Regions from separate parts of the Homo sapiens genome. Here regions 1 and 3 are each linked to region 2. Evidence: promoter capture Hi-C in human tissues and cell types (Jung and others, 2019). All regions are on one chromosome and are shown on one strand. The core of a region is centred on a gene start or on the middle of the fragment in contact, and the rest is flanking DNA. Distances in the headings are between cores, read along the strand shown. Region 1 holds the start of FMO4 (flavin containing dimethylaniline monoxygenase 4). Region 2 holds the start of FMO3 (flavin containing dimethylaniline monoxygenase 3). Region 3 overlaps FMO1-AS1 (FMO1 antisense RNA 1).

The links. Contacts are between HindIII fragments. The study calls those that stand out against the background at their distance.
Region 1: a contact is called between the fragment with the promoter of FMO4 here and the fragment with the promoter of FMO3 in region 2, in 1 of the 25 tissues and cell types used here (adrenal gland).
Region 3: a fragment that was not itself captured here is called in contact with the fragment with the promoter of FMO3 in region 2 in 1 of the 25 tissues and cell types used here (aorta).

Annotation. Positions count from the first base shown.
Region 1 is chr1:171,312,868-171,316,740 of GRCh38, forward strand. It overlaps FMO4 (flavin containing dimethylaniline monoxygenase 4), which reads left to right and starts at 1,316. Exons shown (of 10, transcript NM_002022.3): 1 at 1,316-1,546; 2 at 3,319-3,460. The HindIII fragment of the contact is 8,197 bases long and covers 1-3,873 here.
Region 2 is chr1:171,088,902-171,092,637 of GRCh38, forward strand. FMO3 (flavin containing dimethylaniline monoxygenase 3) reads left to right here and starts at 2,004. Exons shown (of 9, transcript NM_001002294.3): 1 at 2,004-2,080. The HindIII fragment of the contact is 16,457 bases long and covers 1-3,736 here.
Region 3 is chr1:171,241,104-171,244,787 of GRCh38, forward strand. All of the region lies in intron 2 of FMO1-AS1 (FMO1 antisense RNA 1), which reads right to left. Among named protein-coding and RNA genes, the nearest start is that of FMO1, 5.5 kb to the right of the region's middle. The HindIII fragment of the contact is 3,466 bases long and covers 671-3,684 here.

The DNA of each region.
Region 1 (3,873 bases), core at 66-2,565, 220 kb after region 2:
TGAAGTCAGGGAGACCAGGAACCCACCGGAAGGAACTAACTCTGGACACAATATTTTTTTTTCTTTTTTTAAATTTTTTTCTTTATTTCTTCTAAAAAAAAGTGGGATGCATGTGCAGAACGTGCAGGTTTGTTGCATAGGTACACGTGTGCCATGGTGATTTGCTGCACCTATTGACCTGTTCTCCTCTAAGTTCCCTCTCCTCACCCCCTACCCTACAACAGGCCCTACAACATTCCCCTCTCTGTGTCCATGTGTTCTCATTGTTCAACTCCCACTTATGAGTGAGAACATGCAGTGTTTGGTTTTCTGTTCCTGTGTTAGTTTGCTGAGGATGATGGCTTCCAGCTTCATCCATGTCCCTGCAAAGGACATGATCTTATTTCTTTTTATGGCTGCATAATATTCCATGATATTTTTCAAAAGAAAATATTTGCTGCCAACAGAAGATTTTATATTAAAATCTGTATTTGCAGCTTTTACTGAAAAGAACCTAAGGCCTTGCCATATTGGGCTCATTTTCTCAAATAGCAACATTTAGCTGAACTGAATAGACAGAGAAAGTACTTTCCAGTCAGATCATATCTGGCCCACTTTCCTCGTGTATGTTACCCTCCTCACTCCTGTAGGCATTTGCATGTGTAGTCACAAGCAAATGTGGTTTAGAAATTGTTCAGTGAACCATGTTGGAAAATGTCCCTAAACACAAGTCCTAAAGATGGTCTGTTATATTATCTTACAAGCACACAGTGGAAGGAAAAACAGTTAAGTTTTCTATTTCTGCCACAGCTTCTATAATTATTACCTTTCTTGTGCCCTAGGTTAATATCTAAAAATAGCTTTATGCTTTCTCAAACACATTTCACCAGCTCCCTCTGCTGATCCAATCTGAAGGACAAAACAGCTTAAATTCCTTGTAAGTCCTGAACTTTAAAATCACATTTCTGGGGTTGGAGAACTCCAAGCATGAAAGAACTTGATGAGGTAATGGTCATCTAAATAACTTTCTCCTTTGGACAGCTCCTATGGTAATCCAAGCAAGAGTCAGGGTGTAGAAGTTTGTTTCCAAAAGTAGAACTCCTGTTTCGCTGAGAAAGCTGTAATTTGGGGTGATTTGGCGCCCTCTACAGACTATAATGGCAAAAGCGACGCTATCATGTGCTTCCCATAGCTTTAGGGCTTTGCCAGAACTATGACGTTGAGGAGGGTGGGGTAAAGGGGCAGGAAGCGTTTATGTTCTGCCAATCCAACAGCTGTATTCTAACTCACCATTCCGCCCTCCCTTAAGATCACGGAAGTATCACGCTTGCCTCTTACACAACTTTTTTTCCTTAGTCTGTATACTTTCTGCTGTCACTAGCATAACAGAAAAGACGAATGGCTTTTGTTTTAAACTGAGGGCACTTTTACAAAAGTCATCTTTCCATTTATTTTTCTTTCAGAAAAAAGAATTTGGGTTTTGAGCTTTTTTAAAAAAAAAAGACAAACACTTTCCTTGACTTTGAGAAATAATTTAAGTCAAAGAATCTGCTCTATGCTAACCAAGGTAAGTGTCCTGGATTTTTTTTTTAATGGGGAAATGATCCAGAAACTGCTTTCACAAAAGATGAATGTTTTTCTTGGAGTGTGTTCCTTAAGAATGAATGTGATTATCTTCTTTTGGGGTCTCTTGACTAGGGCTAAAGCAAGAGAATTAAGGAGAGAGTCAGGAAGCAAAGGGAAGTTGTAAGGAAACAAAGTTATGTTGTGGACAGAACCATCCAAAAGGAAAGTGTCAGTGAGATAAACAGAATCATGAGACTTTCAGTGACTCCAGTGACCTCTGATTTCATCTTATGAATGAGATGGAAATGCCAGCCATTGGGAAACAAATACCCCATAGATGGCGTGGGAAAAAAATACTGTAACAAAGCAAGAGCATGGTAGGATGATGATAAGAAACATAAAATGATCAAATTTCAAATTCAAAGAAATCATAATTGATTACATGATTTGCAAATCACCCAAGTCTCTCCATGTCTCATAAAGGATTCCTACATTTGCTGGTCAGTCAGGTATAGGGTGGGGTTTTCCCGTTGTACAAAGGTCTAGTTCAATAGGTCAGGTCTCCTTTCTGCCAAGGGACTAAATATAAGCAACCTATGGCTGGCACGGTGGCTCACGCCTGTAATCCCAGCACTTTGGAAAGCCGAGGAGGGCAGACCACTTGAGATCAGGAGTTTGAGACCAGCCTGACCAACATGGTGAAACCCCGTCTCTACTAAAAATACAAAAATTATCCAGGCGTGGTGCCGCCTGCCTGTAGTCTCAGCTACTCAGGAGGCTGAGGCAGGAGAATCACTTGAACCCAGGAGGTGGAGGTTGCAGTGAGCCGAAATTGTGCCACTGCATTCCAGCCTGGAAGACAGAGTGAGACTCCAACTCAAATAAATAAATAAATAAATATAAGCACCTTTGAGCAACCAAGTACCTTATGAAGTCCACTTTATAGTTTGCAGAGTTTGCACACACGTTCTCCCAATCCTTCAAGCCTGCAGTATTCTCGCCTACCTTTGAATTCATATCTTTTTTTTTTTGTGCACCAATTACTTGGTTTTCAGACATAAGAACAGTCCTTTCAAGCTTGAAGGAAACAAAGAGAAAGCCACTTGAACCCTCTGTTTTACAAATGTGGAAGCACTGGCTCAGAGAAATTGAGAATTGTGTCCAGGGTTACAAGCTGCTTAGAGGCAGAAGCAGAACTAGAACTCAGATCTCTCAATTTCCAGTTCACTCACTACCTTCCTCTACTGACTCAAGGCAAAATTTAAAAAGGTTGCTCCCATTCAGAAATTTATAGTCTGTAAATACGGATTAATTTTAAAAGGTGCTAATTCCCAATTTGTTTCTACTGCCTGTAGAGTCTCTAAGTCAGTCCTTAAAGTGCTTTTGCCCAGCACGTTTTTAACCCCACAGGCCACTCTGTGTCACTAACTAGGTCTCTAGACAGGGATAATAAACAGGCCAGGAGAGTGCAAGCATTCATGCCTAGAGCATGCTGCTACCATAGGACTTAGCACAAGGTAGTATCAGCCTCTCCATATACAACATCTTAAGAGCAGTCACGGTCTTTTTTAAATTCTAAGACTTTACTACTATTTCTTAGTTGCAGGGTCTTCATTATCTTCAGGGCCCCATACTTAGCTTAGGACCTGCACTTAGAGGTACCCAGGGCATATTTGTTGAATGAATTAATTTGCTTCCAGTCTATTCACGTCAGTATATTTTTCACTTTGGCAATTCAGTTAGCAGTCATTTCTTTTTACCTTATGATTGCAGAGATAGAGCACAGCAAAGATCTGCCAGCCCCAGGCCTCTACCTAGTGGCCTGGAAATTCAAGTATTCTTATTGGTGGAGGCCATTTGTTTCTGATTAGAAGCTGTCTAAACCTCCTACTCCTCAACTCAAAGGAAAACACAGGTATGTCTGCCTACTCCTTTCCAAACTTGTTGATACATTTTATCTGTATGAACTGTCTTTTCCAAGGAGAAGAGAAGGAAGACAGGAGACAAGTAGGGAGGTAGAGAATGAACACTGAGTAAATATTTTGTGCAAGGCACTTTTTTGTGTAAGTAATATCAAGTTTTTTAAAATGCAAACAATCCTTCAACATAGATATTTTTATTATTTTACAAATAATATATCTAAGGTTGCTTCAGTCGGTTGCTCAGGGTCATATGGCTAGTTGGTAGCAGAGAAAGTTCAAACCCAACTCTGCTGCCTCCAAAATCCATTTTCATTGCATTCCATATAGCTCTCTCAACTAAATAGGGACTCCCAAATAAAAAGTCTAAGAGGAAAAATGATGCATTTTTTAATACATAATGAAGCCA
Region 2 (3,736 bases), core at 754-3,253:
AAAATATATCTTTGGAAATAAACACAGCATTCCTCTGGCTATGAAACTAAAAAAGTTTGAGACACTTTTTAAACTTGTAGCAGAAGATGCAACAGACTGTCAGCTTCATTTAGCACTGCCTGCACTAATTGTTGTTCACTCGATTCTTTACGAGATATTAGCTTCAGAATATGGACCCTAAAGAATCCACATCTTTGGAATGTTCCATCATAGCTTTGATGATCAAGTCTGAGTCTCCAAAAGCCACTCTCATTTTATAGAAATCTTTCAACTGTTATGCATCATCAGACATGACAACAGGTGTCACAAGAGATATATGCCTTGCCTCCAGCAAATCAATTAGAAGAAAACAAAAATTTCTTTAAAATACAAAGAAAATATAGAGCAAGAGAACAGAATATAAGTCTTCCACTCATATCCTCCAACAGCAACAATAATCTAGCAACCATCCAGGGATGAAAGTTTCTTCTTAGCAGTTTTGTGATTTGGAGGGGACAACAGAGTAGAGAATGCCCACTGCCCCAACCAGAGCCTGGGCATTTGAGATTCTGAAGATTTAAAAAGGGGCTCTGCAGAAAGCTGTGGCAAGCAAAGGATAGGCTAGAGAGAGACAGGACTAATAAATGTGTCGACTTCAGATACATTCTTGTGAAGGACAGCAAAGAATAGGTGGCCTTTTCACCTCCTAGAGAGATAAAACATCGGAGGCCAAGGTAGAATTGGGTGTGTCCTGCCAATCTTTAAATGAATAAGGCTATAGGAGTAGTATTGCTTCCTGAAGTAGTCACAATCTTTTCTTTGCATTATTTTAATTCTATTTATGTAGCATTAAAAACTGAAAAGAAGTTCTATGTAAAATGAGAGCAGAGAAAATCATGTTGTCTGAATTGCAGCCCTAGAAAATTTCATGAACCTATGACTTGTTTTTAATTTTTATCTACAAGTCACATTTGCTCATTTTTAACTACATGCCACATTTTATATGTACCTATGTATACATGTATTTATGTGTACATACCCTTTAATCCTCTAATCCTTGTTAAAAAAAAAATAGCCAGACAGGAATTAATAGTGTAGTTATCCCTATTTTATTAATGAGTAAATCAACGATTGGAAAGGTTAAGTGATTTGCCCAAGGCCACAGAGCTATAGAAGTGATTTGGAATCTCTCATACTCACACTTCAGAGATGAAGATTACTGTCTTCAAAAGGCATGAAGGGTAATTCCTCAAAATTAGACATATACCAGTTTACACTAAGTATCACTTGCTTAATGAAGGAGTTAACTAGACAAAATGAGTGAGATGTTATAATTCTAAGTGACATCAAAATATAGTTGATAGGAAAACTTTTTTTGAAATTCTACTATATTTCATGACTGGGAGTTAGGTGCAGTTTATTTTGTCTAACTGCCAACATAATTTTACCTGGTACTAATTTTACCTGGTTCCTGGTACTAATAGATCAATTTGTGGAATTTTGATCTTTTCTGTGACCACACACTGTACTCAGAAACAAGTAAATATAAGCTTGAGAAATACAGGCCTTTGACCCCAAAATTCCAAGACAGGACATGAAAAGAGAGAGCAGAGAAAAGTCATCCTCCTTATTGGGCTATCTCAATTAAGTAGCTAAGTTTCTACAGTATTTGGAGGACTACTATGAGCTACCCACAAAAGAACTAGGAATAAGGAAAACAAGGTAAACTTTCAAATAACACATAATAAAATGGAGTACAGAACTGCAAAGTCACCTGGGAGAAACTACTTGACTCCCAGGCCAAGGGTCCAAGAGTATAACCAGCAGCTTGTGTTTACCATAATCAAAGGAAAAGTAGAAACTGGGTGGCCATGGGAGACTGGCCTACAGTCCCATCCATCACAGAGGGTTGGCGTGTGCTCACCCATTCAAGGACCAATAAATGAGTATCTCTTTAAGAGCAGCTCCTCCCATTTTTCAACAATCTTCCTAATATGTAGGCTCACTAGAACATTTTCTCTTTCAAACTGCCCAGACGGTTGGACAGGACGTAGACACACAGAAGAAAAGAAGACAAAGAACGGGTAGGAAAATTAAAAAGGTAGGAGGCTGAGGCGGGTGGATCACCTGAGGTCAGGAGCTTGAGACCAGCCTGACCAACATGGTGAAACCAAATCTCTACCAAAGATACAAAAATTAGCCAGGCGTAGTGGTGCATGCCTGTAATCCCAGCTACTTGGGAGGCTGAGGCAGGAGAATCACTTGAATCTGGGAGGCAGAGGTTGCAGTGAGCCGAGATCACACCATTGTACTCCAACCTGGATAAAAGCGAAACTCCGTCTCAAAAAAAAAAAGAAAAGAAAAAGAATAAAAGGTGATATAGTAAAGGGTTGAGGGTGGGATGGGTAAATGAAGAAGGAGCATGCTGTAGTTTTATACCAAATATGGCTAGAATGAGAATGATATAATTCAGGCAGTTTGTTTGTTTCTGGGAATCACGGATCATGATGTTTAATCATCCAAGTCTATTTCCCTGCATAGCTATGTGATTTTGTCTAAAAAGAAAAAAAAAAGTAGTGAAAGAAGTAGTGGTAGAGCCTAAAGACAGTGTCAGGAACAGAAAAAAGTTAGGAAACGTAATTTTCTTAGAGGGGAATGGACGCTGAAGGTAGTGGGAAAAAATTGTTTTTAGGTAAGAACATGACTTCTTTCCCCAACACCCCCCGGAGAGAAGGTCTCACTCTGTCACCTAGGCTACAGTGCAGTGCTGTAACCATAGCTCACTGCAGCCTCAAACTCCTGGGCTCAAGCGATACCCCAGCTCAACAGGACTATATAATCCCAGAGTAGCTGGGACTATAGGTATGCACCATTTACTTGTCTTTTTAATTGAGAAGGTGAAGTACATTATTGATGGGGAGAAGGGGTGACTACCTGGCACACTGAAATACAGACATCTTCAGACCTTGTTCCTCATTATCCGTATCTAAGTAAAAAGAAGATACAGATTGCGTGTGTGTGTGTGTGTGTGTATGACTGTGTGTGTGTATACATATACATATGTGTTTCTTCATTCCCATATACAGGCATATGTATGTGGGTGGGTGGGTGGATGTGTCTACAGGTGTTTTAGTTGCGAATCTTTATTTCTTCTGCTTACTCTTTTTGGTAGACAGTAAATGACAAAGTCCAAAAGCAAAAAAGATAAATATGTATGCTGGGTCATCAGTCTCTTAATTTTGGAGAGCTGATGACTAAAAACAAAGTGCTTATTTTTTTTTCAGAAGAAAACTTTCTCTTTAGAAATTAGAGAGAAATGAAAATGTAGTTAGATCACTAAAAGGAATTTGTTTTCTAGAGACAAGGTCTTACTCTGTCACCCAGGCTGGAGTGCAGTGGTACAATCACGGCTCACTGCAGCCTGGAACTCCTGAACTCAAGTGATCCTACCGCCTCAGCCTCCTGAGTAGCTGGGAGTACAGGCATGTGCCACCACACCCAGCTGATTTTGTTTGTTTTTTGTTTTGTTTTGTGGAGACAGGGTCTCACTCTGTTGTCCAGGCTGCTTTCAAACTCCTGGGCTCAAGTGATCCTCCCACCTCAGCCTCCCAAAGTGCTGGGATTACAGGCGTGAGCTACCATACTCAGCCAGTGTTTATTAAAAAGTAAAGTTTTTATTAAGCCAAAGAGCGAAATCAAAATAAATAGATAAATAAGTAAATACATTTTCAGCAATGTTGTTACTGGAAATGTTCTC
Region 3 (3,684 bases), core at 1,154-3,653, 150 kb after region 2:
TGGCAAGCTGAATCCAGCAATACATCAAAAAACTTATCCACCACGATCAAGCCAGCTTCATTCCTGGGAGGTAGTGCTGGTTCAACATGTGCAAATCAATAAAGGTACCATCACATAAACAGAACCAAAGACAAAACCGCATGATTGTCTCAAGAGATGTAGAAAAAGCCTTTGATGAAATTCAACATCCTTTCATGTTAAAACTCTCAATAAACTAGGTATTGATGGAACATATTTCAAAATAAGAGCTATTTATGACAAACCCACAGTCAATATCATATTGAATGGGTAAAAGATGGAACCATTCCCTTTGAAAACTGGTACAAGACAAGAGTGCCCTCTCTCACCACTTCTATTCAACAGAGTATTGGAAGTTCTGGCCAGGGCAATCAGGAAAGAAAAAGAAATAGAGTGTATTCAGATAGGAAGAGAGGAAGTCAAATTGTCTCTGTTTGCAGATGACATAATTGTACATTTAGAAAACTCATGATCTCAACTCCAAAACTCTAAACTGATAAGCAACTTCAGCAATCTCAGGATACAAAATCAATGTGCAAAAATCACAAGCATGCCTTTACACCAACAATAGACAAGCAGGGAGCCAAATCATGAACAAACTCCCATTCACAATTGCTACAAAGAGAATAAAATACCTAGGAATACAGCTAACAAGGGATGTAAAGGACCTCTTCAAGGAGAAATACAAACTACTGCTCAAGGAAATAAGAGAGGACACAAACAAATGGAAAAACATTCCATCCTCATGGATAGGAGGAATCACTATCATGAAAATGGCCATACCGCCCAAAATAACTTACAGATTCAATGCTATTCCCATTGATATTCTTCACAGAATTTAAAAAATTATTTTAAACTTTATAAGAAATCAAAGAAGACCCGGTATAGCCAAGACAATTGTAAGCAAAAACAACAAAGCTAGAAGAAACACACTACCTGACTTCAAACTATACTACAAGGCTACAGTAACCAAAATAGCATGGTATTGGTACCAAAACAGGCATATAGGCCAATGGAGTAGAACAGAGACCTCAGAAATAACACCACACATCTACAACCATCTGATCTTTGACAAACCTGCCAACAACAAGCAATGGGGAAAGGATCTCCTATTCAGTAAACGGTGCTGGGAAAACTGGCTAGCCATAGGCAGAAAACAGAAAGTGGACACTTCTTAAGCCTTATACAAAAATTAACTCAAGTTGGATTAAATACTTAAATGTAAAACCACAAACCTTAAAAACCCTAGAAGAAAACCTAGGCAATACCATACAGGACATAGGCATGGGCAAAGACCTCATGACTAAGACGCCAAAAGCAATTGCAACAAAAGCCAAAATTGATAAATGGGATCTAATTAAACTAAAGAGCTTCTGCACAACAAAAGAAACTATTATCAGAGTGAACAGGTAACCTAGAGAATGGGAGAAAATTTCTGCAATCTATCCATCTGACAAAGCTCTAACATCCAGAATCTACGAGAAACTTAAACAAATTTACAAGAAAAAAAACAACCCCATCAAAAAGTGGGCAAAGGATATGAACAGACACTTCTCAAAAGAAGACATTTATGCAGCTAACAAACATGAAAACAATCTCCACATCACTGATCATTAGAGAAATACAAATCAAAACCACAAAGAGATACCATCTCACACTAGTCAGAATGGTAATTATTAAAAAGTCAAGAAACAATAGATACTGGTGAGTCTGTGGAGAAATAGGAATGCTTTTACATTGTTGGTGGGAATGTAAGTTAGTTCAACCATTGTGGAAGACAGTATGGTGATTCCTCAAGGATCTAGGACCAGAAATAACATTTGACCTAGAATTCCAATACTGGATATATACCCAAAGGAATATAAATTATTCTACTGTAAAGACACATGCACACATTTATTGCAGCACCATTTACAATAGCAAAGACATGGAACCAAACCAAATGCCCATCAATGATAGACTGGATAATGAAAGTGTGGCATATATACAGCATGGGATACTATAAAAGGAATGAGATCATATCCTTTGCAGGGACATGGATGATGCTGAAAGCTATCATCCTCAGCAAGCTAACACAGGAAAAGAAAACCAAATACCATTTGTTCTCTCTCATAAGTGGGAGTTGAACAATAAGAACATACGGACACAGAGAGGGCAACAACAGACACCAGGGCCTGTTGGGGGTGAGGAGTGAGGGAAGGGAACTTAGACGATGCAGCAAACCACCATGGCGCATGTATACCTATGTAACAAACCCACGCATTCTGCACATGTACCCATTTTTTTAGAAAAAATTTTAAAAAATGATACCATGTAATACCTTTTGTATTAATTACAAACCCCTTAGGCAGACTCAAGATAGAATTCTAAGTGATATGATAGATAAGATAGTTTCTAACGTACAGTTGCAGGCTTTGTCACAAATGTTTATCAAGCTATAAAGATGTTTAAAGAAATTCTTAAAAAGAAAAACATAAAAGTGGCTGTTTCCTCCAATCTTCAGATAGTGGATATGTGAGTCACTGAATCACCACTACTGACACTAGTAAACTCATTTCAAGCATAATAATTGGCCTTAAGTAGTCTTGGTTCTCCCTCCAACTCCACTTTCAGTGCTTTCATTCTAAAGGTGGGTTCTCAGGAAAAGAAAAATAATAACCTCGAGGTGTAAGGAACAGAGGGAATTACTTCCTTTAATGTGTGGCATTAAAAAACAAACACTCACATTTTAGAATGACAGGTATCTGTGGGGAAGATCTGTGTAGGTAGGGGACCTTTGATGCTTCGAGTGTAGCGGGAAGTTGTGAGTTAGGGAATTGTGTTTGTCTTAACTTTGTTTTTTGTAGAGAGAAAAACAATTTCACGGGGTGGGTCCAATTTTCAGACTAAGTAAATTCTGTGCTCTCTTTCAGCTCTAAAATTCTGTGGCTCTAACTGTGAATCAGAGAAGTGAAATAGAGTAATGGAAGTGAGACTGAAGAAGATGGTTGACAACTCAAGATGAATGAAAGACAAATCTAACACCTGAAACCATAAAAATACTAGACGATAACATCAGAAAAACTCTTCTAGACATTGACTTAAGCAAAGACTTCATGACCAAGAAGCCAAAAGCAAATGCAACAAAAACAAAGATAAATAGATTGGACTTAATTAAATTAAAAAGCTTCTGCACAACAAATGAAATAATTAGCAGAGTTAACGGACAACCCACAGAGTGGGAGAAAATCTTTGCAATCTATACATAAAACAAAAGACTAATATCCAGAATCTACAAGGAACTCAAACAAATCAGCAGGAAAAAACGAACAATCTCATCAAAAAGTGGGCTAAAGACATGAATAGACAATTCTCAAAAGAAGATATACAAATGGCCAACAAGCATATGGAAAAATGTTCAACATCACTAATGATCAGGGAAATGCAAATCAAAACCACAATGCAATACCACCTTACTCCTGCAAGAATGTCCATAATTTTAAAAATATAAAATTATAGATGTTGGCATGAATGTGGTGAAAAGGGAAAACTTTTACACTGCTGGTGTGAATTTAAAGTAGTACAACCACTATGGAAAACAGTGTGGAGATTCCTTAAAGAATTGAAAGTAGTTCTACCATTTGATTCAGCAATCCCACTACTGGGTATCTAACCAGAGGAAAAGAA